Regions from separate parts of the Homo sapiens genome. Here all the other regions are linked to region 1. Evidence: promoter capture Hi-C in human tissues and cell types (Jung and others, 2019). All regions are on one chromosome and are shown on one strand. The core of a region is centred on a gene start or on the middle of the fragment in contact, and the rest is flanking DNA. Distances in the headings are between cores, read along the strand shown. Region 1 holds the start of NKAIN3 (sodium/potassium transporting ATPase interacting 3). Region 2 overlaps NKAIN3 (sodium/potassium transporting ATPase interacting 3). Region 3 overlaps NKAIN3 (sodium/potassium transporting ATPase interacting 3). Region 4 overlaps NKAIN3 (sodium/potassium transporting ATPase interacting 3).

What was found. Contacts are between HindIII fragments. The study calls those that stand out against the background at their distance.
Region 2: a contact is called between a fragment that was not itself captured here and the fragment with the promoter of NKAIN3 in region 1, in 1 of the 25 tissues and cell types used here (spleen).
Region 3: a contact is called between a fragment that was not itself captured here and the fragment with the promoter of NKAIN3 in region 1, in 1 of the 25 tissues and cell types used here (dorsolateral prefrontal cortex).
Region 4: a contact is called between a fragment that was not itself captured here and the fragment with the promoter of NKAIN3 in region 1, in 2 of the 25 tissues and cell types used here (dorsolateral prefrontal cortex and stomach).

What each region holds. Positions count from the first base shown.
Region 1 is chr8:62,247,169-62,250,889 of GRCh38, forward strand. NKAIN3 (sodium/potassium transporting ATPase interacting 3) reads left to right here and starts at 1,686. Exons shown (of 7, transcript NM_001304533.3): 1 at 1,686-1,959. The coding sequence starts at 1,906. LOC124901952 (a long non-coding RNA gene) reads right to left here. Exons shown (of 2, transcript XR_007060932.1): 1 at 2,289-3,721. The HindIII fragment of the contact is 6,824 bases long and covers 1-3,300 here.
Region 2 is chr8:62,753,444-62,757,164 of GRCh38, forward strand. The region is part of intron 4 of NKAIN3 (sodium/potassium transporting ATPase interacting 3); the gene reads left to right. Among named protein-coding and RNA genes, the nearest start is that of GGH, 280 kb to the right of the region's middle. The HindIII fragment of the contact is 4,709 bases long and covers 1-3,721 here.
Region 3 is chr8:62,639,613-62,643,333 of GRCh38, forward strand. All of the region lies in intron 3 of NKAIN3 (sodium/potassium transporting ATPase interacting 3), which reads left to right. Among named protein-coding and RNA genes, the nearest start is that of NKAIN3, 390 kb to the left of the region's middle. The HindIII fragment of the contact is 3,272 bases long and covers 1-3,248 here.
Region 4 is chr8:62,532,960-62,536,680 of GRCh38, forward strand. All of the region lies in intron 1 of NKAIN3 (sodium/potassium transporting ATPase interacting 3), which reads left to right. Among named protein-coding and RNA genes, the nearest start is that of NKAIN3, 290 kb to the left of the region's middle. The HindIII fragment of the contact is 5,741 bases long and covers 1-3,721 here.

The sequences.
Region 1 (3,721 bases), core at 436-2,935:
ACGTGGATTGTGCATAAAGGCAGCGTGCTCACATGATCCTTGATCACTGATGTCTTAACGCTTGAATTAAAAAAGGAGGAGGAGTTCTGACTGGACTTCTCCTGTCTCCATGATAATATCAGAGGTGGAATGTAAACAATGAATGTTCTTGACCCTTTTAATAACCCAAATCCTGAGGTTATTCATGTGTCCCTACTAGAATTTCAAAGATGTGCAGACTTCCTTGGGAATGATAACCGTCTTAAATTATAAACATAGATCCTGAAGAAACGTTTCAGAAAGGATAAAAATAAAAACAGGACTGCTTTTAACGCCTGAACTAACGGCTTGAGCAGTTTCCATGTCTGGAGTGGAAGTATTAAAAACGCAAAGATGTCTTGCCTTTTCTTACCAACCTACCGCCAAGAACCCAGGAGGGCAGCAGTGGGCTAGAAACAGGGTTTCTGTGCCAAATTCTGAAAACAGCCTTTTCTGAGATAATTGGCCTGCAGGCTTGTTCCCTGTTCTGGTGTGCTTTTGAGCTCCTTGCGCAGTTCCACCAGGTACAACAAATGCGCCCATAAAATCTGTCTTTGAGCCCTGATGAAATTTCATCCTCTGCAGAACGCCTCCGCTCTGTTTTATTAGGTGGGAGAGAGCAGGAGAGTTTCCACAGGATTCAGAGAGAGTTTGTCCGTATCTTAACTATCCGAGATCTTCTTTCCAAATCCTTCTCAATTTATTTCTGTGAAGATATATTTATACCTATTCCGGAAACCTTCTCCATTTCTAGAAAAAGCTACGCATCTTCTTCTTCCTCGACTTCTCTTTTCTCCCTCCCGGTGAGGATTTCAAAGGGTATGTGAGAAAAGAACCTTAAGCCAGGTCTCCCCGCGGCGTCCTGGCTAGTCCCGGCGCCCTGGGCGGGTGCATCGCTCCGCCGCAGCGCCCCTTGCCACCCAACTCTGTCCAACTTTCCCTTTCAGACTCCAGCAGGGGCGCCCTCCAGGCAACCGGCTGTGGCGGGCAGAAGCAAGCTCGGATGGGAGACCCCCGAGCTGCGTGCCCAGCGCCGGCTCAACAGACTTGCCCGCGCAGCGCCCGCGGGCCCCCTCGCATCCGGGCAGGTTCCGGAGCTGGGCCTTGCGCTCCCCGGCGCCCGCCCACCCTGGGTGTCTCGCGTCCCGGCCCTTCCTCCCCGGAACCCAAGCTAACCCAACTCCCATCCTCGCCACCTCTGGGGCAGCTCAACTAAGCCGTGTCCCCTCCCTTGCAAACGCGTCCGACCACCCTCCCAACCCCCAGCACAACCCTCAGCAAGAAAGCCCAGCTGGGTCTACCCAGTTACACCGGTCAACGAGGGTCTCCATCGCCGCCGGCCGCCCTAATTCACGCTCATTCATATTCATTCTCTTTTCTCTCTGTCCCTCTTCCTTTCTCCCCAAAGACTCTTAACTAGACAGGCCGATCCTCCCCAGCGGCACTCCCTTTCATTCTTCCCTTCCCACCACACACACACACACACACACACACCCGGACCCAGACAGCCCACTCCACTTTCCAGACGCCCACCTCCTACATACTCCCCTCCCCTAAACAGACATTCACCCACTCGCCATCTGTAGCCTCCTTCCAACCCCCCGCCCCGCCCGCCTGGCTCCCCCTCCCCAAGAAACAGACCTGCACAGTGGGACGCAGGGACCCCCGCCAGACGCTCGGGTCGTGCGCACCGCACTGACCTCGGCCCGCCCCGCCGGGAAACTAACAAAGGCGGGCGCGAGCCCCGAGCCCTGGAGCCGCGAGCGGCGGCCGCGGGGCCGAGGAGCCTGGGCCGGGCCGGGCGGGGACTACTCCGGAGTCAGGAGGCAGCAGCGGCGGAGGACGAGGATCTCTGGCAGTCAGCGCCGCTCGGACGCCGCCGGCACCATGGGCTGCTGCACCGGACGCTGCTCGCTCATCTGCCTCTGCGCGCTGCAGTTGGTGAGTGCCCCGAGGGCCCCTGCCCCAGGACAGGTCCCTGCTCCAGGACCGGCCTCTGCGACTCCCTCTGCGGTTCCGCAGCTCCCGGCAAGGGGCGAACGGGTGAACAGGGCGCTCCGCCCGCCTCCCACCCTCCCCACCGCCTGGCTGGGCTCGCACTGCTCTCCAGCCGCGGGCACTCGCCAGGTCGCCCCTGCCCTGCAGGAGGGCGCGGTCTCACCCCCGGTCCCATGCGCTGGGGTTCGCCGCGCTCCCGCCGGGCGTCGCCACGCGGTCCAGGGGCCAGGAGCCGGCGGAGTGAGGGATTTTCCCGCCCCTTGATCCGATACCTGGTTTAGCACCCTCCGCGTTCGTGCTGAAGTTACACGGGGACTTGCGGGCTCTTTCTTCTTAGGATGATTTCCAGGAATGTTGCTTAATTACACTGTGTGGGAATGCCCAGGTTCTGAGGAGACAGAAGCTGCCTCAACTCTGTTAGTGAAGAGTGAGGTGGTTCTAACCTTAAGCAGGTTGAAAAGTGATGGTTAAGGAGTCTGGGACCTCCAGGAAGGAGATCAGGCTGTGTGCTTCAGCCCCTGCCCTTCCAGTTCCGCTTTGGATTTTGTTGAAATGTTGCATGTTCAGGCGGCGACAGACTGACAGCTGTCATCAAGGAGAGAACAGAGTGAACCGGCTCCATTGGCGCGGTGCCTTGCAGAGGGAGTGTGTGTAATGGGAAGTTAGAAACTAGAGTGGGGAAAAAAGGCCCTTTCAGAGCAGAGCAAATGCTCCTCTTAATCCCTTTGGATCCTGGACTGGCTCTGTGGTCTATTCCATGGTCACTTGAGGTCAAGGCCACAGACCTTTTGAGTCAGACTTTTGTGTGTGAGAGATTAATAGACATCTCCCTTGCGTTATACTTCAGACAGATTCTGAGTGCTCTGCCAAGCTTTCTTCCAAGCATTGTATTTTTTTTCGAGTCACAAATATAAACTAGTATATTTTGACAAGTGAGAGGAAAAAGCTTGCAATGAACTTTACTTAGTAATGTCATCCCTTGCAAGACTTATTAACTGAGGGATAAAATCGTGCTTTTTAGTAGTTAGTCCTTGTTTACATGAAGGCTTTAGAATGTTTTCACTTTTCTCTTGCCTCAGTGTTCCAGTCTCCCATGAAAACCTCACTTTGGATGTGCCCTTCATTGTTCACATAATGCATGCATAATTTATGTATTCGTAGGTTTGAAATCAGTGACTTTTTAAGCCTATTGGATAGTGCCTTCTGTCTTGTGAAATACTTGAATCAAACATATTTTATAGTTTCTTGAAAAAAATTTTAAAAATTTAAAACAATATGAATGTTTTCTTTCACTAAGAAAAGAAGGCAGGAGCTTGATTTGTATTTTGGTTTTCAGAAATGGACATGGCTTATAAGTTGGAAAAACTGACTAAACATTGAGTCAACCCTTGATTCAATGTAAGATTATAGATAGGCATGCTGGATTGCATAATCTATAATGCCTAATTTCTATTTTACATGGAAATAACAAGTAAGGTTTTTATGTAGCAGATTTATCAATGCAATTATGATTTTCTTAACAGGCATTGTGATGATAATGTTTTTGAGATTTCATCCATCAGCCAAGCATGCCCCTTCTTTCCACTTTCTTAGTTGATACAAATGCAACTTATTTGTCAAAGCTTATCTTAAAATTCCATTTTTTAATGAAGTCTTCCTTGGTGCTCCAGGTAAAATCCCTTATATTCCTATAATCTCATAGCAC
Region 2 (3,721 bases), core at 332-2,831, 510 kb after region 1:
ATTATTCATAATACACAATGAGATCATTTAAATTAGTACTAAAACCATGAAAATTTAGTAATTAATTCAATGAACAATATGAACAAATGTGTTCACATAAGGGAAAAACATCCAAATTGTAAACAGTTTGGTATAAAATATAATTATTGATACTAACCTGATGTATGCAAGTTAACTTTGAAAAAATTATTTTCACTAATTTAGCAATTTGTAAAGATAATGTTAAATAGAATTGTAATTCACTTATTGGTAGAAGCAGTCTTTGTCTCAAAGACTATTAAAATGCCCATAACTTTTGGTCTTGTAACCCCACTCAATGGGCTTTCTTCTAAGAAAATAATTCAACAGAAAGAAACAGCTACCTGCATTATGTTCATTTCAGTGTTATTTATAACAGCAAATCTGGATATGTATAAATATATGCAATTAAAGACATGGTATAACAATTTATAGTACATCAACTTGATGAATAGAAAGTAATAACTATGTTAATTTTAAGACCATATATAAAACATGAAACAGTTTTTTATGATTCAAGTACATAATCCAGGAAGAAAGTTCAGATACAAAAAGATTTAGAATTATGGATATGCCTTCCCAAAAAAATGTTTTTACACATTGTATGATATTTTAAATAATACTATTTAATTATCATATTTGTATATTTGATTTGTATAGAAAATCAGAAGAGATGTTATAGTTGCTTTTCTTAAATTATCAACCAATCCTAAATCTCATAACTTTTATTTGATCATTTAGAGGCACTCATAAATCTTAGTTACTATAAAATATTTCATTTTAGTGGACTGCTCAGTTCTGGGGTTAATAAGTCAATAATATCCAATTTAAGTCCCTTTTTAATTTTCAGTGTTAGTTATTTACTGGTAAACATGGATTCATATGCTCATGTTGATTAGTGCACACACACACACACACACACACATGCACACATATAAAGGAGCTCATTTTTATAACTAGTAGAAAAATCCTAATCTCCAAACTTGGAAAAGAGTTTTAAAACTCACCTTATTGATTTCTCTTTGCAGCTAATTTTACACATATATTGTCTTGAATCCTCACTGTCAATATATTCTCCCTCATATCTGATAGGTGACAAGTCACATTCTTTAACAAACCTTTGGAGGTTGTCACCATGGTCGGAGCTGGGGTCCTATGAGAATTGTTTTTTCATCATCCCTATGCCTTTTGCATTGTATCTCTCTGTTCACATCAACATTTGTCACTGTTCTCTGCCTTTCATATCGGACACATTCAGCTTAATGATAAATTAAAACTTAATAGAGAAGGGTAAAAAGTAATATTAGACCACAAGGTATCCTGTAGAATCTTTGTTCTCCAAAGGCTGTATAGCTATCTGTTCATATGCTTATAGAATAAATTGCACAATGTCAGAGTAGACAATACTACTGTTGCTTCAGTAACATGCTCACAGAGTGCAAGAATGTAAGTCAAAAGACAGGTGAAACTGAACTTTTGAAATATATCCCAATTGCTTTTAATTGTACCTCTCCAAAAATGTAAATATAGTTAAAAGATTTTTTTAAATTTCTGTGTTAACATTTGCATTTATTTAACAAACTCAGCATGCTCTTGGAGCTGATCTCTGTGCTTTTCAAATATGAACTCACTTAATTCTCAAAATGACCCATGAGGGTAGTGTTATTATAGTCATTTTATATGTGTGAAAACTGAGACACATGGAGAAGTTAAAAAATGTGCCCAAGATCCCACAGCTTGTGAGTGAAGGTGGACCTCAAACCCTGGCAGACAATTCCTGGTCATGTGAGAAAAGAGGACTTCTCCTTGCAACACCTTGCAGGGTTCGGGGGTAAACTCTGTCAGATCCATAAAGCTATGAATCTCCTGTTAGGCTGATGGGATTTAATTGCAGCTCCACTATTAGAAAGTAAAAATAAAAGTACAATTATGTCTAATAGTTAAAAGATTGGCAAATAGTTAAAAATGTTTCCTTTCACTCTTGAAAACATCTCTCAACAGCCTTTCTGATCATTGTTGTTTATTTTTTAAATGGATTATTTCAACATTTGTCAAATGCTAAATATATTGGACTCTTTTTTTTTCTCTTTTGCTTGCTAGCGCTTTCCAGGGTCTAGTAAGAGGAAAGAAATCATGACCAACCTCTCCTGTCCCAAAAGCCTCCCAGGATTACCCTTTTACCAGAAAATCTATTTTTATATAAAATAGATGGCTTCTGCTCATACCAAATTTTGAGCTGCTTCTAAGTGCTAGATAGAACTATTAAAGATTTAGACTGACTTACTCACTATACACCATCTCTGGTCTCTATATTCAGTTCCATGCTCAGAAAAGTAAAGCAACAGTTTATCTAAAGTTCCACTCACCCAAGGAATCATTTATTGGATCATCACAATATTGAGAGGGGTTTATGGTTGTGGGAGAATTTCCATGCCAAAAATATTCAAAGGGCTTTGGCAGAAACATTTGTGTTCAGAAGCCAGGGTACACCTGGTCAGTCAAATTGTTGGGGCCTGGAACTGTCCATTTAGTGAGCTGTGATTTTAAATCACTTCATTCTTTGTATTTGTGTCTATGCAGTATACTCTCTTGGTGAAATGTGTATACATTTTTGTCAGACTTACTGAAATATGATTCACATACCATACAATTCATCATTTTAAAGTGTACAATTCAATAGCTTTCAGTCTACTCACAGATATGTGCAACCATCACCATGGTCAATTTTAAGACATATTTATCACCTTGGAAAGAAAGCACCACCCCTTAGCTATCACAACCTGTGCATTCTTCTCCCCAGCTCTAAGAAACTACTAATCTAATTTCTGTCTCTATAGACTTGCCTCTACTGGATATGTCATATAAATGTGGTCTTTCGTGTTTGGCTTCTTTCACTTAGCACATATTTTTAAGGTTCACCCATGTAGCATGTATCAGAACTTCCTTTTTTATGGCTGAATAATATTCTATCATACATTTACTCTTAATATCTCTGCCTGTTACAGATATATGTATAATATTTAGCAAAATTTTCTGAACTAAAATTTAAATTTAGTTAGCCTTCACCTTCCCACTGATAAATTCTGAGAGGAATTTAGGCAATCCACTGTATATTTTATCTACATAACGTCATATGTTCATCTTTTGGAAACATCTGCGTTACAGATAGCAACTGACAGCTCTTACACGGATGCCTGGTCTTATATAAATCCAATATTATGGTTATCTATCTTTTGTCCACAGCATCTATGGGTTTTAACAATTTAAAGCATGTGAACATTTAAAGCTTATATTCCTCTTATACCATAACACTCTCCATAACAGTATGCATATGATTAGTATTTTTTCTATATGCCAATCAGTTATCCCAACCACAAATTTTATGCCATCGCTAAACAACAGAATTCAGTCTCTTGAGCCCTGATGCTCATGATTATCCCAGACAGACATGTTTGTGCATCTTCATAAATTATTACTGCCTTACTAGTTTCAAATAATCTCCAAATATTGATTATTAAATGCAAACATGAGTTATGACATTTGGTAAACTTAAATATTGTTTCATCAGAGAAATGAAAAACTTAATTAGAAATCGTATCTAGTACAAAAGCCATTAACATAGAAAATCTGAGATCCGTTTAATAATTAATCGAGCCAACATGGTGACTTAGGGCTTATGGAAATATTAGAGGCAAGAAAGCTA
Region 3 (3,721 bases), core at 363-2,862, 390 kb after region 1:
TTGAGAAAAAGAAATTGACCTTGCAAAAGAGAGGGGAAATCATAAAATCAAGATTTTTGAGTGGATTAGAAGTGATAAAAATAGACAAGTTGGTCATCAGCAGGAACAAGCAAAAAGAGAAAAGGGGGAGGATGTGGGTGCAGAGAGTATAAATTTGAGTTAGTTTAGTGATGAGAAGTGAAGTGGTTTTTTTCTGATTACTTCCCTTTTTATTAATAAGGAATGAGGGGGGCCATAACTGATGAGGAAAAGAGCTTTTGGACACTGAGGAGAGAAATATAAGTCAATAATCATCTTGGAGAATGGGAACACAAATGTACCAGGAAATTATAGTAGGACTTCTAAGCTTTACCAAATGTCCATTCAAACTTTGTAGTCATAAATTTAGCCCTTATCTCTAATTTGACGTTTAGCACTGCATCACATTATTACTAACCATTTTGTATGTGAAAATCATATTTTTCCCAATCATTTACAAGTTTCTCAAAGGTGGAATCCCAAGGTTGTACTAATTGGTATCTTCTCCAGGGCATACTTCCGTGACCTGGCAAGTAGGTGCCTGATATGGTTTGGCTTTGTATCCCCACCCAAATCTCATCTTGAATTGTAATCCCCACATGTCAAGGAAGAGACCTAGTGGGAGGTGATAGGATCACGGGGGCGGTTTCCCCCATGCTCTTCTCATGATAGTGAGTTCTCATGAGATCTGATGGTTTTATAAGGGGCTCTTCCCCCTTTGCTTTGCCCTCTCTCTCACCTGCCGCCATGTAAGACGTGTGTCTTCCCCTTCTGCCATGATTGTAAGTTTCCTGAGGCCTCCCCAGGCATGAGGAACTCTGAGTCAATTAAACCTCTTTTCTTATAAATTGCCTAGTTTTGGGTAGTATCTCTATAACAGTGTGAGAATGAACTAATACAGTATCTCATAAAGATTTGTGAACTTTCAGATTGAAGACTGAATTTACCATTGTGAATTAAATGCCTGAGGAGATGTTTCTAGCCCTTCTTTCCTCTGCCCTGACCCATATTAAAAGAGGTATTCATAGAAATCATTGCTCTTTTTCCTCTGCGCGCACCCAGCCTGGCAAACACGTCTGGCTTAGCCCTCATATCACTAAAGGTATCCGTGGGATTCCTCTGAGCACCCCAGAGGTGGGTCTAAATTCTCCATCTACTCAAATATGTCCTCTACTCATCGAATCTGGTCTAGGACCTGAAGAAGCACTGGTGTGAGGTGGCTGTTTCTAGTTTCTTAAATCGAAGCTGAAAACTAGGGCCAGTTCTATTCAGTCATGTTTTTGTGTCCACATTCTTTAACCCCAGTAATGTCTAACCCTCAGCATTATGGTAGTAAAAGTCAGACACTGTGCCTGAGAAATAGAAAAGCCTCATTTATTTATTTTTTTTTTTTAGTCCCTTGCTTCTCAAAGTTGGTCCTAACACCAGCAGCACAAGTACTATCTTAGAGCTTATTAGAAATGCATCTTGGTTCTTGGGTTCATGGATTCACTCCAGACCCACTGAATCAGAATCTACACTTTAACAAGATGCTCAGATGATCCTTACACCACCAAAATTTGATAAGCACTCTTCTAGATGATAAAAGAAGCTCCCAAATACAGTTATGTAATTGTGCTAACAGAAAGCTTTGAAAAATAAATGAAAATTTTAATAATTGCTTTGATTTTTGTTCATAAATAAAGACACACTCTATTGCTGTGTGTCTTGCTGGACCTAAGGAACAGAAGGATTTTTTGATAGCTGTCAGGAAAGCTGAACTCTGTTTAATGTAGGCTGACTCTTCCATGTAATTGCAGCTAAAAAGTTAGCTATGAAATACCTTATCACAATAACAGAAATGCTCTCAGTAATCCATAAATTCTTTGTAGCACATTTGCTTTTTGTAGGTTTTTGATAAGTGGTTGGGAGGACAACCAGCAGTCAGAAAAACATCTGTATTCTTTAAGAGCCTGACTCTAGACAGACTCAAAATTCCTGGACACAGAGAAATGTTTCCTGGGCATTCAGATGCTACTTAGCAAGTTAAATAGCTCATTGATTGATAAAGTGAGAGGCAAGATTAGGAAGGGGTTAGTTATCTGAGTAACCTATTCTTGAATATGGAAATCACATAATTATTTTCAAGAGAATGTGTGTGAGAACGAATAAATGAAAAAGTTAGATATAGCTTTTTTTCTGTGCTACAAATCTTATATGTTTATTGAAAGTCTTTTCTCTAAGACTATGATGCATTTGGCTAAGATTAATTTCAGAAATTTTACCTGTATTTTTAATCTCATTTAGAAATGAATAGTAGCCATAAAAGAGGCCCTTATTGACTGCCCAGAGTGGTGGGTCACAAGGTAACATGTTCTGAGAATGCTGGGATGCAACCTGCCAAGAGATATATGGATGAAACAAATCAGACCATGCAACCGCACTGCACTCCTGGGAAAAATGCTTTTTAAAAAAATAAAGATAATACATGTTTTTTATTTAAAGTTTAGAAGTTGAGAAAATAACGATGACAAAAACAATGCTCCTACACCCATCTGTTCTGAGCTTACCACTTGAAACCCATTATTGAAATAGAAACCAGTTTGTCACTGGTAAGCTTGAGGTTCCTACATGTCACCATGTAGCATGACATAGCAGAACTGTCATCGAAACCTCAGTCAGAATTTTGTATTTCTCAACAAAACGTATACCCATAGGATACTAATGGGCACAGTCCATTACAAAGACATAATATCATTTTCTATATTTATTATCATAACACATTCTCACACCTATAGAGTAGTTTGTATTTAATATTGTCTTTTAGGCTTCTGATTTTGACATTGGATAATGTTGGTGCTGACCTCTGACTGCCAGGTTCTCAAAGGACAGCCTCATTTTTATAATTTATTCCCCCTTTCTTGGTCTCTTGGTACAATGCTAAACAATATAATGCACAAAGCAAACAAAGCAAATAACTGAATATACACCTTTTTGCTCTATCTGGTAAGGCAAATATACCCACTTAATTCACACCTTAATAATTTATTTTAAAAAATGTTAATCTCTTTTCTTTAGGAGCTTTTCCCTTGGCTCCTTTTCCTGCAGACAAAGTAGGTAGTTTACTTTGTCCAAAGTCGTGTTAAGTACAAATGAAATAATGATGAGCTTTATGTAGGCAGATTCCTCCCTCCTTTTTATATATTACCATTTTTCTCAATTAGTTTATATGCTAACATATTGTAAACAGAAAGACTTGTTAGTAAATACAAAAAGAGGCATGCATTTTCTATAATAAGATTGAATAAAATAAAAAATTTATTGGAACTATCTGAAATTTATATATTATTAAGCACAAAAGGGACACCTTCAGGTTTTTGTTCAGATCATAATTTTGGAGCATTTTTTGGTTCTAGAAATAAATGGAAATGACCAATGAATGTTAGTGCTAAAAGAATCCTTTGATAGCATCTTTTTTTGGCCTTTCTTTAAGATAACTTGGCACCAGAATAATAAAATAATGTAACCACATTTATTCAATTAGAGTATAGTGGTTTAAATGCACAGTTGTATTTTTTTCACCTCCAGTATAGTAACATTATTCTACAAGTTAGATATGACTTTACAAATTTAATGTGCTAAGAATAAAAATAATGCACAATCAGCTAGGAAGTTAACACACTAAAACATAACTTAAAGAGGTGAAGAGTAACTTGTCCAGGAG
Region 4 (3,721 bases), core at 412-2,911, 290 kb after region 1:
TTCATTCAACAAGTCTTGGAATGTCTGTTCTGTGTCACTCTTTAGACACTTAGATACTATTTTCAGACAAACAAAATGCTCTGACATTCTAGTGGTGTGGGGGAGACAACAGAAATAAATCAGATACATACATAAAATATACAATAGTGGAATAATGATATATGCTTATGTGATAAGGAAAAGAAAACAGGAAATGAAGGAGTTTGGGGAGGAAACTGTAAGTTACAGTTTGATTAGGAAAGGCCTCATTGAAAATGTGCCTTTGAGTAAGCACCCTGTTAAAGAATGAGTATCTCGAGGGGACACATGTAAAAAGATGGAATTTTAACCAGTAATAACTAGAGCTATTAACAGTCGATACCTTCTGGGGGGATAATCTTATAGAATGGCCCAGCTGCAGTGGAACAAACTGTAGAACATAGATTGAGGCTCTGTGTGGTGACACCAAAAAGGAAGTCTCCTAAATGTATAGTTTCGCCTGAAGCGGGCTTAGCCCCATGGCTGGGCAGGGCCTTATGTGCTCATCTTCTCACCCCACCTCCTAACAGGGCTTCAGGATGCTTGGACCAGGAGAATCATCCTCTAAAGAACATGAATTACATTTGGGAGACTGAGTTCTCTCTACTTGGAAGGCCCAGGAAAGATTTCCCCTTTTTTCTGCTGCTTTCTTCCTTAGTAGATCTTTTGAAAGTTTCTTAAATTTGTAAAATTGCTCTCCCCTTTCCTTGAATCTTTAGTCGTTAGCTGTATACAGAGAAAAAGTCCCATGTATAAATTGGTCGTTTGTGTTATATTCACAGGAATGGGAATTAAGCCTGAATTTTTAAAATGTTTTTTCAGACCCTGAGTAAATATTAGTAGAACTCATCTACCATGAAATTATGGAAAACAAAATTGTGATAATACTTATTCTGCAATATCATCCAGACTTGCAAGTTGCTAGACATGAAAGAAATACCACAAACTGGAACTGGAATATGAGGGAGAATGTGGGGTCCATGGAGGACACTGCAAGTCCCTTTCTGTGATTGTCTCCGGCTGACTTCAGACGCAACATTACCATGGCAACTTCGTGAAAACAAGGAGGGTAGGCTGAGCTCTTCCCAGCTACTGAATTTTCTGAGTCTCTCTCTATTGTCTGATGATCTTCCTGCCTGAGATCTCCCACTTTTTATTAAGCACCACGGGCATGAGATGAGAGCTCTGCCCCCGGCTAGGCTTGTTCCCATACGTATGTTCCAGTGAGCGTGCACAGGAAGCCCGGGTCTGAGTTAAACAGCGACCACACGTGGGAAAAGTTGAGTTTCTTCCTTTGAAGGTTAATGACAACCAAGCTAGGTTAAATGAAACACCTGTCTGGAAGAAACACTGACAACAGGCATGCTCATAAATAGTACAGGTCACCCGCTGAGCTGACTCTAGTGCAACCTTCTCTCGCAGTGCTGATATTGCCGAACCACGAAATCATACCCACCAGCACGTCATTTGTTAGTTAGAAAGGATGTCATTTTGAACATCATTAAATGTATTTTTTTCACACCCCCAAAACCAACATAAGATGAATGTCACCTGTGAACTGTAAAACGCATCAGCTGTTTCTTATTGAAAACATAACACAGCGGTTTTCATACTTCAGCATGCAGCCAAAGGGCCTCAATGGCTCGCTAAATCAGAGTACTGGGCCCCACCCCCAGACTTTCCTTCTGTAAATCTGGAGTAAAGCCTGGGTATCTGTACTAACAGAATTAGAAGAATTTGAATTTGTTGATGCTGCTGCTTCTGGGCTAAATTCTAGAACCACTGGTCTAGCAGAGACCTCTACTTCTCCATATGGCTGCCCCTGCCTGCCAGGGAAGTGCTTCTTTCTTCATGGTAAAAATGTAAAAACATTGCATTTATTGGTTTTTTTTTTTTTCGTATAGTTTCTGATTTTCTGAAAGCTCCACAGAATGGTCCCAAAGAAAGTGTTCATGAGCAGCTTCCTGTGAAACACAACTAGACAAATAACTCTATCCATTGCAGATGTATAATTGGAATTCAAATTGATTTGTGTGCATGCTTTTTTATGAGCATTATTTATAAACTTGGAATTGGAGTGTCTTTATGGAGTCATTACTACCATTCAGTTCAACACTAAGTGATTCTTCTTTGCATCCAAAATTGGTAGAGCTAGCAGATGAGCACTGAGTTGAATTCGTACACTATTTGTCTCATTGAAGTACTGACAGCACATGCCACAGTCCACGTGCTGTTTCAGTTATGCTCATATTCATGTTATGTTCGGAAAACTCTCTCTGTGTTTTCTATTCTCACACTAAAGCAATCATCAATACAGAAGAAGACTTCTGTGACCATATGTGTGGGGTGTTTTTCCCCACACACCAAGCAGTGAACACCAGCTGGGTGTCCTCTAATTCAATTCTGACTTTATCTACCTGGAGACAGTGTCAGATCTCACAGGTTGAGGGCTCAGTCCCTAAGACTGCCCTGCCTTCCACTCACCCCGCTACCAGTCCCAAGTTTGAGCCTCCAGAACTTCTGACCACCGGGCTTCAAGTTGGGATTCCCATGATCCTTTCTTTAGGCTCATCAATTTTCTGGAGTGGCTCACAGAACTCAGGGAAACATTTACTTACATTTGCTGATTTATTATAAAATATATTGCAAAGGATCAAGATGAGGAGATGTATAGGGTGAGGTATGGGGGAAAGGACATGGAGCTTCCATACCCTCCCTGGGTGCCCTACCCTCCAGCAGCCTCCAGGTATTCAGCTCCCTGGAAGCTCTTGGAACTCTGTCCTCTTGGGTTTTTATGGAAGCCTCATGACTTCAGCATTCCTACTTCCAGAGAATAGGGTGGGATCCTCTAATGAGAGAGTCTTAAGACCCACAATCAGAAAGTCCAGGGAAGATTAGAGTCCTACTTTGGGCAGGTAAAAGGAGGGCCAGACATCAATGGCCTGCCTCTGAGTCCTAATACACCCAACATTGTAACAAAAGACTGTAACAAGGGCTATGGGAGTTATGAGCCAGGAACCATGGATGAACACCAATATATATCCTAACACCACATATGTCATATATGTATATACATAAGTACAGAAACACACATATATATGTGACTATATATGTGAATCTTAGGACATGTATAGACATGCATGAAAAATTTCAAAGAAATGACTCTATTTTTGGAGCATTAATTATAAGTGAAGCCATTTGGAACATGAATAAAGAATGCTTATAGCATTTTTAAGATTAAAATTCATTTTAAAATAAATTTATTATAATAATTACTTCAAAAAGCAATGCGGGCAAGCTCCAAGATGACAGATCTCTAGCTGAAGATGGATGACAAGCTGCTTTCTCTATTAGGCCTGCAAAACAAATATTTTTAAGTCCTAAACATATAGAACAGTTATGGAATACCTATGGTGTGCATGTTAGCCATTAGTTTAACAATAATGTTAACATATGTCCTTTCAAGAGGAGATAGGACCTTATCAAGTGGATTTATTGAATTACATTTGCTCTAAGATATTGTCTGTAGAAACTGAATAAGGAAGGAGTTCAGTAGAACAGCAGCAAGCATTTCCTGAATGTTCCAAGTGGTGGCTGTGGGGACACATCTAGTAAGGCCTGAGGAAAACATGACAAACAGGGACAGGTTTTGAGACCATGAGGCTGTCTCTGGAAGAACCTATAAAATCCTTTTGAAATATTT